Regions from separate parts of the Homo sapiens genome. Here region 2 is linked to region 1. The links are contacts of gene promoters, found by promoter capture Hi-C in blood cells and fetal thymus (Javierre and others, 2016). All regions are on one chromosome and are shown on one strand. The core of a region is centred on a gene start or on the middle of the fragment in contact, and the rest is flanking DNA. Distances in the headings are between cores, read along the strand shown. Region 1 holds the start of HINFP (histone H4 transcription factor). Region 2 overlaps ARCN1 (archain 1 coat protein complex I subunit delta).

What was found. Contacts are between HindIII fragments. The CHiCAGO score rates a contact against its expected background, and 5 or more counts as called.
Region 2: a contact is called between a fragment that was not itself captured here and the fragment with the promoter of HINFP in region 1, in 2 of 17 cell types (activated CD4 T cells and non-activated CD4 T cells). The highest score is 5.6, in activated CD4 T cells.

Annotation. Positions count from the first base shown.
Region 1 is chr11:119,117,265-119,123,277 of GRCh38, forward strand. HINFP (histone H4 transcription factor) reads left to right here and starts at 4,316. Exons shown (of 10, transcript NM_198971.3): 1 at 4,316-4,375. C2CD2L (C2CD2 like) reads left to right here. Exons shown (of 14, transcript NM_001290474.2): 14 at 1-1,280. RefSeq lists a silencer at 4,050-4,329. The HindIII fragment of the contact is 5,005 bases long and covers 144-5,148 here.
Region 2 is chr11:118,573,264-118,579,126 of GRCh38, forward strand. All of the region lies in intron 1 of ARCN1 (archain 1 coat protein complex I subunit delta), which reads left to right. It also overlaps a transcript of IFT46 not described here. Among named protein-coding and RNA genes, the nearest start is that of ARCN1, 3.8 kb to the left of the region's middle. The HindIII fragment of the contact is 2,250 bases long and covers 2,189-4,438 here.

The DNA.
Region 1 (6,013 bases), core at 3,066-5,565:
AAGGGGTGTGCAGAGAAAGGATGGAAGAGACAGGAGGCTCTGGAGTATGAAATTGTAGCAAAAAACTCAATCAACTAGTACAGGTTAGTCTTCATTCCCCTTTCTGGAACAGGCTGCTCCTTCTAGGATGTAATGGAGATCAAAGCTTGGACCCTGTAACTAGACTGCCTGCCTGGGTTTGAGTCCCAGCTCTTCTAATTACTTGTGTGACCTTGGGCAAGTTATGTAACCTCTAAGTGCCTCAGTTTTCTCATCTGTAAAATGGGAACTTCAATCATCATGGCTATCATTTGGTTGTGGATGAGAAGTAAATGAAGTGCTGAGTGTTAACTGTTGCCTCAGAAGAAACTGGGAGGGGGAAGTCTTAGAAGTGTTTCAACATAATAAAAGCTCTCTCATTCTGAAATGTGGGCAAATTTCAGGGATTGATAGATCCTAGCAAACTGTGTCCCTGGTTCCCGTGCTTGAGATCTTATACAGGACTTGAACCAGGTAAGCTGCTACAGGATATTGGGCAGAATGCAGGACCAGGAAGCAAGAAAACTGAGTCTGCCACAGACAAACCAAGTGATCTTGAGCAGGCAACTTCTCCTTTGGGGACCTCAGTTTCCTCATATCTAAAATAAGGGTGACCTGGATAAACATTCAGGTCACTTCCAGCCTTGACATTCTATGACTACCTATATCTCAGGGTGTTTAGGGCACATGCCTTTGGGTAGATAGCATGTGGAAATTGTTACTATTCCCCATGCTCCTGTCCACACTACTCACCAAATATGAGATATCCGGGAAGAATGGAGGGTATAGATTTTTTTTTTCAATTAGATAATTTAGTTTTATATATTTGGGGGGACAAGTGCAGGTTTCTTACATGCATATATTGCATGCATAGAGGTGAAGTCTGGGCTTTTTTTAGTGTGCGCATCGCCCAAATAGTGAACATCATACCCAATAGGTAGTTTTTCAACCCTCACCCTCCTCCCACCTTCTCACCTTTCATAGTCTCCGATGTCTTTTATTCCACTCTATATGTCCATGTATACCCATTATTTAGCTCCCACTTATAAATGAGAATATGCCATATTTGACTTTGTTTCTGAGTTATTTCACCGAGGATAATGGCCTCCAGTTCCACCCATGTTGCTGGAAAACACATGATTTCATTCTTTTTTATGGCTGAGTAGTATTCCACTGTGTGTGTGTGTGTTGGGCGATGATAATGATGTCCATTGCTGTGTGACAGCTTGGAATTTAATTTATTAAAGTCAAGTTGGAGTTTATAAACTGCATTTTCTTTATCACTCACTACATTAACTACGTTTTCTTTATCCAATCCTCCATTGATGGACACATCGATTTGGTTGATTTTTATGTAGTGAAATGTTCAATTCTAAGTCATGAAAATTCAAAGAGATTTTTCAAGCTGTTTCCCCAGTCTAAGAAATGTAACTCTTAGTGGTTCACAGAGGAACAGTTTTTCTACCAGTATGACACGACAACCAAACACAGTGAACTTGTGATTGCACAAGAAACTTTTGTTGATGGGAGAACAGGTATTCAGAGTTCTACAGGACCTGGGGAATGAGTAGATGGTAACTGGAATCTGTATTGAGCTTCCAGTACTGAGCTGCCCAGAGTTCCATGGAATCACATATTTTAGTGAAGAAGAGCCTGATCACGTTTCAAAAATAGGGAATTTTTAAATGAATGAAAAAAATACGAAACATATTTTCATCAACTTAATCCATTTCACACTTTCAGAAGGGATCCACAGCTTTTAATGAGTATGAATTATGCTTTCAGTTTTTGTGGCAGCTTTTAAAGAACAAATCTCAGGATATGTCTGAATTACCCAGCCAAAATTGTGGCTTGTTTTCAAGAGAAGCAGATTGAGATAGAAGTAAACTATGCTAGACAGAATGACACTGCTTTAAATTTTGGAAACATATATATGGATCCCAGAGCAATCCTGAAATTTTTGCTCTGTAACCTATGTTTGAGTTTACACAGCTCTGTGAATGAACTTTTTCTTCATAAAATTGCTAAATAAAGCTAAAAGCTATTTTCAGTGGTGTAAATCTGAATTAAAATGAGGATGGCATTTCATGAAGTACTACTATATGCATTTTTGAATGAATAAAGTTGGTAAGATATATTTTGTTACTTTTGAATTACATTTTTTAAAACGCTTTTTTTTTTTTTTTGAGACAGAGTCTCTCTCTGTTGCCCGGGCTGGAGTGCAGTGGAGTGATCTTGGCTCACTGCAACCTCTGCCTCTCAGGTTCAAGCGATTTTCCTGCCTCAGCCTCCTGAGTAGCTGGCACTACAGGCACCCACCACCACACCTGGCTAATTTTTGTATTTTTTGTAGAGATGGGGTTTCGCCATGTTGGCCAGGCTGGTTTCGAATTCCTGACCTCATGATCCGCCCGCCTCGGCCTCCCAAAGTGCTGGGATTACAGGCATGAGCCACCGCGCCCTGCAAAACCCTATTTTAAAATAGGGACCAAGTTATAACTCACTGTTGTTAAAACCAAAATTTATGCACAAGTATGACTTTACTATCTTAATGGCATTTTAAATTTTATTTTATATATATTGAACATTTAATGTGTTTTCTGATTGTACAAATTATATAGGTTTATTTTTAGATTAGAAGATACAGAAAACTACAATGCAATAAAATATCAGTCTTAACCAACTTTATTAAGGTATATTATTTAACAAGTATGTCTTGAACCCTTACTGAGTTTCAGCCACTGGGCTAAGTGAGTGATGGGTTTTTTGTTTTATTTTGTTTTTTGTTTTGTTTTGAGACAGAGTCTTGCTCTGTTGCCCAGGCTGGTGTGCAGTGGTGCCATCTCAGCTCACTGCAACCTGTGCCTCCTGGGTTCAAGCGATTCTCCTGCCTCAGCCTCCCGAGTAGCTGAGATTATAGGCGCCCGCCACGATGCCCAGCTAGTTTTTGTATTTTTAGTAGAGACGGGGTTTCCCCATGTTGGCCAGGCTGGTCTTGAGCTCCTGACCTCATGTGATCCACTCGCCTCGGCCTCCCAAAGTGCTGGGATCACAGGCGTGAGCCACGACACCCGGCCCACTGATGGAGTTATAAAGGTGAAGAACTAGTCTAGTGAAGAATGCAGACTGAGAGTAAACAGACAAATACAATGTGACTGAGCTGTATTGTTAAATACAAGAAAGGACTATCAGGAAGACTTTTTGGAAAAAGAAGCATCTACACTGAGACCATAAAAATTAGTAGGAGTCAGTCAAATAAATGTGGGAGGAGGAGAAAGGGATTATTCCAGGTAAAGAAAACAAGTTCAAGGCTTGAGAGGTAAAAGGTGGCTTGGTGTGGTGGAAAAGGTGAAAGAAATTTGCGACTGGAGAGCAAGAAATATGGTCGAGAAGGACTAAAAAAAAGTAGACAGGGAGAGCCCAGATGCTGAAGGGTCTAGAAAACCTCAGTATGGTTTTGGAGCTTTGCCCTGAAAGCAATAGAATGCCTTTGAATTGTCTGAAGCAGATGGTAACTTGATCAGGTCTGCTTTTTGCAAAGTGGAGAATGCTTTGGAAGGAAGCAAGTGTGCACGCAGCGGGACCCATTAGACTAATGTATAAATCCTGCCTGGAGGTCATCACTGGACAGGGGAGGTGGGGGAGGCGGTGAAGATAAACAAAAGGGGATAAATTTGAAATATCCTGTTTTAAAAGGAGGTAGAATCCACAGAACTTGGCAATGGATTGGATGTGAGAAGTGAGAGGAATCAGTGATGACTGCCAGCTTTCTGACCTGAACGAGTGGATGAAGGGAAGCCGAGTTTTGGGGGGAAAGAGAAACATATAATACCAACATTTAAAACATAATAAGACTAAGAGGCTGAAGGAAAGGGTAGAACCTTCAATCTGAGCCGAGCGGGGCCGACAGCGCTGGGCAGCATCCCACGCCTTTTTCTCCGCGAGGCCCACGCAACCAGCCAACTAAAGCGAAGAACCACGTGAGGGAGACCCCACTGCGCACCAGGCGCGAGCCCTGCGCATGCCCGTTGGGTCCCGGAGGCCGAGCCTGCGCAGTTAGGGGAACTCAGGCCCATAGGCTCCCCGCCTTTGCGTTGCCCTGAGCAGCGAGGCGCGGTCACGTGCTACCTTTTGCACGTATCCTGTCGCCCCTCTGTCCGCCCGGGACGCCTAGCCCCACCCACTGTTCCCGCCCCTTCCGTGTTTTGGTGCGCACGGGTTCCGCCAGACACAGCTACCATTGGCTGTCAGTCGGATCCGAGAACGACGATTGGCTTTCCTTGACCGTCCCTCAAGCGCCTCTCCGGAGATGGTCTGAGGTGGGAGAAGAGCTGAAGAGACCTGGAGCCGACAGACGGTAAGCTGGGGTATGTGCTCTGCAGGGGCTGCAGGAGGCCAAGCTCTTCCCGAGCCACCTCGGCGAGTATTCTTGCCGCTTGGCCACGCTGGTCTGCCCTGGTCCGGTCCCCTCACCCCGACTGGAACCTCCCTGCTTTCTAGTCTAGGGGCTTCGCTGCGGCTGAGACTCGGTCGCCGCCACGCCTTAGCGTGAAGGATTCCGGGAAGCCTGCGGGACTGCGAGTGGAGAGGTTTTGCCCAACGGGACGGTCTCCTTCCTTCTGTCCAAATTCTACCTGTCCTTCGAGGCGTGGTGCGGGCCCCACTGCTTAGGGGAGACTTCCTTTTCGCCTGACCGCGGAGGTGTCTCTCTGTCCTGGTCTCCCTCATCGGGTACTTTGTTTCGGTCGTTGTCTTCACGTATCAGTCTTATCTTTTTGGCCAAATTATGAGTTCTTAGGCGTTTAGGACCCTTTTTTTCTTGAATACCACAGTTCATTCATTGTCTTGCGTTACAGTATATGCCCTCTTAAGTGTTAAGAGGGTAGAGTGAAGATCATGCCCCTATCTCCTCAGAGTAGAAACAAGAGACACAGAAAGAGAAATTAAAGAAGACAGGAGGACAGTCAGAGAGCGTCAGGGAGTTTTGCCTAGGTTTCAGATCATTCTGTATCGCCAGCTAGCTTGCCTCCTTGGACTTACCCACCAGTCTAACAGCAGGTGTATGTTTAGAATATTTGTGCTCGGCACAGTGTAGGGACACGGGCAGGTGTGATATGGTTTCTGCTCAGAAGCTTCTTATAGTCCAATTGGGTAAACGAGACTAGAACACATAAAACGACCATGGCAACATGAAAATAGGGTTGAAGTTTTATGGTGTCAGCTGTGCCAGCCATAGAACTAAGGAGCAAGAGTAGATTCAGGGATGGGGTAGTTTAGGAAGGCTTCCCGGAATGTGATTATCTCCTGATATTTATTGAGTACCTGGGGTGTGCAAAGCTCTGTGCTGAATCTGAGAATGAGAAGTGAATAAGTGATGGCCACTGTCCTGAGAAACTCCTAGTCTAGGGGAAACAAGTTTCATTGCATTGATAGCAAAGATGTGTGTGGATGCCGTGGGCAAGAGATGGGATATGCCAGCTGTACCTGGATGAATTGGGAAGGGGGTCATCAAAGAGAAGACTTTGGGGTTTGAAAGGCGAATAGAAGTTGCATAGGTAGGCCTGTCGCGGTGGCTCACACCTGTAATCCCAGCACTTTGTGAGGCCGAGGCGGGCGGATCACTTGAGGTCAGGAGTTTGGGACCAGCCTGACCAACATGGCAAGACCTCGTCTCTACTAATACTACAAAAATTAGCTGGGCGTGGTGGTGCGTGCTTATAGTCCCAGCTATAATACTTCGGAGGCTAAGTCACGAGAATCGCTTGAACCTGGGAGGCGGAGGTTGCAGTGAGCCCAGATCACAGCACTGCACTCCAGCCTGGGCGACAGAGCAAGACTCCATCTCCAAAAAAAAAAAAAAAAAAAAAAAGAACTTGCGTAGGCAGAGAGTTTTAGGAGAATGTAGAGTATTCAGAGACAAAGATGATTGAATCAGAGGAAGAGGGAATGAAGTATGGGTGAGGAAGCCAGAGAACAGCATCATGTGGGAGAAAGA
Region 2 (5,863 bases), core at 2,064-4,563, 550 kb before region 1:
TTATTGTCCAGGTGAAGAAAAATGTGTATGTGGCATGTCGTAGTCAGATGTCTCACAGGAGGTGGAGTAAGAGGGATGGGTTAGCCTCCGAGACCAGTTACTTGCCTTCCCATGCGTTATCTTTGTATACTCATCTGTTACAAGGATGAGAAAGGTTAATGTGGTTGAGGATGGAGGAAATCAGAACTGCTGACATCACTCAATCTTCCTTTATCGCTGTGATTTGTGGATATTCATGAAGTAGTAGACATTCTTTGGTTTCAAAAAAGCTAGTAATTTATTTTTCAGTGCACCTTATGTCCTTTAGTCTTTTGAAGGATGTTCTGTTCTGTTCTTTTTTATTCTTTTGTCAATAGATAACTTGATTTAAAACATCGTCCAGTGTACCTGAGAGATGGCAGAATGTAATTTGGTGGCAATCCTAATAAGTTCTATTGACAACCCTTTAGATAAGAACTTGGATAATGGGGGGAATTCATGCTTGGACTTTAGGCCACTGAACAGCTTTTCTCAGCCTCAGGTATATAAATTGCATCAAACAGGTTTGCCTCCTAAAATTTTTGTGTTGGACACAAAATTTCCAGAAACTTGTATTTTCAGTTTCTCCAGGAGGTTCTGTATTTGGTTAGTGATTTTGAAACTCAGTTCCCGTTTACACCCTGGAATTAATAATGCATTTTAGAGCATATTTTTATTTTAATAGTAAAGTTAAGGTCTTGTATTATATAAACCAGATAAAGGTAATCTTTCTAAAAATATTCTTTGTTAAAAGGTTCTTGGAACTTAGTATTTTTAATTCATTGATAACTGAGGGATGGTAAAGCCCTACGTGATATATATAAAATATAACTTTTGCATGCTATTTTGACATGTGTACGTATACATAGAGTTGTGTCACATATTTCTGAATTATTTGGGACTTAACATGATCCAGATACCCACAGATTTGTGTACTCTGGAGAACAATTTATCTCAGTACATTCTGCTCTGTAGAGTGTTAAGACATTGGTATGATTTCTGTGTAATGTTTTTGGGTCCTGCTCCTTTACAAACAGATCCCTGGACAGTAGAAATGTCCAGATAGGGTGAAATTTTTATCTAAAAGTTGTATCAAAATTTCCAGCGTTTATTTTAGCTCAACATTTCATTATGAAATTTTCCAACATCTGGAAAAGTTGAAAGAACTTTGTAGTGAATACCCATATAACCACCAACTAGATTCTATAACTAACATTTCACTATATTTTATCATGCATCTAATCATCCATCCATCCCTCTCTCCATTAAAAAAAAATATACATTTCAAAGTAAGTTGCAGATATCAGTACGTAAACATTGATTTTTTAAAAAATAAATTCCCTTTGGCTTTAGTTATTGAAGTGCAGAATGTCCTAGACTGCAAAGTTCCAATAGATAAATAAGTGAACAAATGCAGAAACAAATGCTTTCTCATGACTTCATCATAAAATAAAGTACAAAGAAAGGCATCTTTTGATTTTTTTTTTTTAAAGAGACAGGGTCTCACTATGTTGCCCAGGCTGGAGGGCAGTAGCTATTCACAGGCGCTATCATAGTGCACTGCGGCCTAGAACTCCTAGCCTCAAGCAATCCTCCCGCCTCCATATCCCAAGTAGCTGGGACTGTAGGCATGCGGGCCTTGATTTGATCTTTTTTTTGTATTCTGCAAATTAATGAGAACATGTTCTGACTTTTTTTCTTGTTTGTTTGGTTTTCGAGACGGATTCTCGCTCTGTCTCCAGGCTGGAGTGCAGTGGCACAATCTCAGCTCACTGCAACTTCTGCCTCCCGGGTTCAAGCTATCCTCCTGCCTCAGCCTCCTGAGTAGCTGGGACTGCAGGCGCCTGCCACCACGCCCAACTACTTTTTTGTATTTTTAGTAGATACGGGGTTTCACCATGTTAGCCAGGATAGTCTCGATCTCCTCACCTCGTGATCTGCCCGCCTCGGCCTCCCAAAGTGCTGGGATTATAGGTGTGAGCCATGGCGCCCGGCCCCTGTATTATTTATGTATCTTTTTAATTGTGTTTTGAGGGACAGCAAAGAAAGAAAATGATTCTCTTGAGTTTCCATTGATTTGCCATCTATTTATGTCTTCATATAGAAGTTCACTGCAGAAACTGATAACGGGTGTGTGTGTGTGTGTGTGTGTGTGTTTTAATTCTCTGCAAGCTTTTGTTTTAGAATAGAAATGTGATGGACTTAAAACCCTCACTGAGTAAATTACTTTTCAAGTTTTAGGTTTCGTATGTGGTCTACATTTTATTGTAATCTTCTCTCTGATTTTATCTATAATAGCTTCATATAAATAGAAAAGACAGAACAGTCCTCCCTGACAATTATAGAAACTAGCCTTAATATGACCATGAATTGTGTGTGCATGTATATGTGTATAAAATATTGCGGTGAATTACAAAGGAGAAGGTGACTATAATTCTGGAAGTAAGGGATCCTGAAGCATTTAGAGATTCAAGAAAGAACTTGACTTTTTTTGAGAGAGAGTTGTGCATATTTATCCTGAATTATTATACCACCTGTTATTCTTGTATCTCTCTTGCACACACAATTTGTTATGGTTAGACAATTTGCCTTCTGGCAGCCTAATGTTACTATAAAATATTGTTCCAAAGTGGTTAGAACTGGAGCAGTGGGTATAAAATGGAAGTATTGTACATTTTCTGTCACTGTAGTTGTTTTTTTTTTTTTCTGTTACTGTAGTTTTCAAATGCTTAGACTTACAGAACTTTAAAGACACAGAGCACTTTGGATTTCATGTAAACTAACCTCCTATGTTAGGGATATTTCAATAATCAATTAAGTGACTTATCCAAGGTCACATAATTAGTGGCAAAGGCAGAACAGAAACCTAATTCTCCAGGTTTTTTTACTTGAGGCACTTAACAATTCATGTAGTTAAGTCTGTGTAGGAGAGAGTTGTTATTTAGTCCAAAGATAGTGTACTCAAACCATGTAAGAATTATTAAAAGTTGTTTGGCAAAGCTCAACTTTATGAGGGAATTTTTTTTTTTTTTAACCGTCCTGGAGAGATCATCTAACTTATGGGCCCTCAGTTTTCACATCTGTAAGACAATCAAGGGCTCTTGCAAGTTCCTTTTAGATCTGGAATGTTTTTTCCAAAAATGTTAAAAAAAAAAAAAAAAAAAAAAACCAAAAACTTTGTAATCATATTTATTAATTCTTCCTCAGAGAAAATCAGATCAAATTTCAATAGGGAAAATTGTTAACTTACCTTTTAGTATATGCTATATTTTAATAATTGTTAAACCAGTAAACATTAATGTAAAGAGGTTTATTATTTCAAGAACTTTAAGAAGACAAATGTTAATTTAGGATAGGATAAATTTATCATGTTTAGAGGTGACCATACCTTCTAGCCATATTAGTAGCTGTAACAGAGAGACCTGTGTCAACTGCCTGGAACCTGTAATTTGTGGTGTCCTGGGTGTTCGGAGATTTATGCTATACTTAGTATGGGGAACTATGGTCCTATTTTGGAAGCCTTGTTTTGCTTGTATCTGGATAATGGAATGACTCAAAGAGAGACATATGATTTTACCCTACTTCTTTCTTCATCTTGACGTACTGAAAGCCTGGAATTCTGGCCAGGTGTGGCGGCTCATGCCTGTAATCCCAGCACTTTGGGAGGCTCAGGCGGGCAGATCACTTGAGGTTGGGAGTTTGAGACCAGCCTGGGCAACATGGCAAAACCCTGTCTCTACAGAAAAATACAAAAAATTAGCCAGGTGTGGTGGCCTGTGCCTGTAGTCCCAGATACTTGGGAGGCTGAGGTGGGAGAATCACCTGAGCCCAGAAGGTTGAGGCTGCACTGAGCCAAGATCACGCCACTGCACTACAGCTTGGGCAATAGAGCAAGACTCTGTTTCAAAACAAACAAATCCTGGAATTCATCAAAGCATGATCTAAATTCTGTTTCTTTCTTTCTTTCTTTCTTTTTTTTTTTTGAGGCAGAGTCTCACTTTGTAGCCCAGGCTGGAGTGAAGTGGTATGATCTTGGCTTACTGCAACTTCCGCCTCCCAGGTTCAAGCAATCCTCCCACCTCACTCTCCCCGTAGCTGGGACTACAGACGTGCACCACCAGACTTGGCTAATTTTTTGTATTTTTTGGTAGAGACAGGGTTTTCCCATGTTGACCAGGCTGGTCTCGAACTCCTGACCTCAGGTGATCTGCCTGCCCTGGCTCCCAAAGTGCTGGATTAAGGCATGAGCCACCGCTCCCGGCCTAAATGCTGTTTCTTCTATCAAGTCATCCCTGACTGTACCAGCTGGAAGTAATCTCTTCCTCTGAATTTCCACGCACTTTATCGGTTACTCTCTCATGTTACTTAACACATTCTGCCTCATATTACAGTTATTTGTGTTTGTGTCTTATCCCTATTAAGCTTCTTGTAGGCAGAATGCTAGCCTGTGTCATCTTAATTCTCAGAAAGCATGTTGTATGTATAGTAGATGTTCGATAAATAATTACTCAGTTAATTCTTATAATATCGCAAAAATGGAGATTACCAGTACCTATAATTAGTTTTTGAACATGCTCATCAGTAAAGTGGATGGGCCAGGTGCAGTGGCTCACTCCTGTAATCCCAACACTTTGGAGGCCAAGGCGCGCAGATGACTTGAGGCCAGGAGTTGGAGACCAGCCTGCCCAACATGGCAAAACCCTGTCTCTATTAAAAATAGAAAAATTAGCCAGGCTTGGTGGTGCTGGCCTGTGCCTGTAGTCCCAGTTACTCAGGAGGCTGAGGCATGAGAATTGCTTGAACTCAGGAGGCAGAGCTTGCAGTGAGCCAAGATGGCACCACTGCACTCCAGCCTGGACTACAGAGTGAGACACTCTCTCAAAAAATAAATAAATAAATAAATAAATAAATAAATAAATAAATAAATAAATAAAGTGGATAGTAACATACACCTTTTTGTTCCTTTTTCCCTCTCAAGTTGCTTTTGATGTTTTTACCTAAATTTTACTTGTATGGTATAGAGGTGTTTTTAACTCCAGTTGGAAACCTAAGAACTACCCTTGAGCCTGTAAACATTGTTTCTAACAGGTTTATTATTAGATATGGGGTTTCTATTAAATGCAGCATGTTTATATAGGTCTGAAGTTTTGGTCTGAGCTGTCCTTTCTTTAGGTGTTCATTTGATTTGTCTTATTTCTTCAAAACCTCATAAAATTCTAACATAGAGGACCATGACTTCCTAGAGCTATGACTCTCAACCTTTTAGGGATAGGAGGCTCTACAGGGATTACATTTACAATATGCTCCCATTTATTAATAATATTTCTCATCGCATGAGGGGATTTTCTATGGGCCATTTGAAATAACTTCTCTAGAGGATCGATGCATTCCCTGAAACTGTATGTAAAATTTTGGGGGGAGAGTCAATATTCATTATTTGAATATCAAAATATTGACAAAGGCAAAAATCCATTGCCTTGGCCGGATGCTGTGGCTCACACTTGTAATCCCAGCACTTTGGGAGGCTGAGGTGTGCGGATCACTTTAGCCCAGGAATTTGTAGCCTGGGCAACATGGCAAAACCCCGTCTCTCTTTTTTTTTTTTTTTTTTTTTTTTTTTTTTTTAATAAAAAAAGAAAAATCCATTACCTTGAAGTGGCATAAATTTTTTTCATGAGATGCATGTTTATTATTACTAATGGTGCTGTTTTACATCATGAATATATGTGCTACAAGTTGTATAGCACTTCTGAAGTACAGTTTCATTATAGTCATTTGGCCCTCATAATAGCTTGTAAGGTCATTAGATAATGCTGCATTTTATAGGAAAAGAAACGAGGTTAAG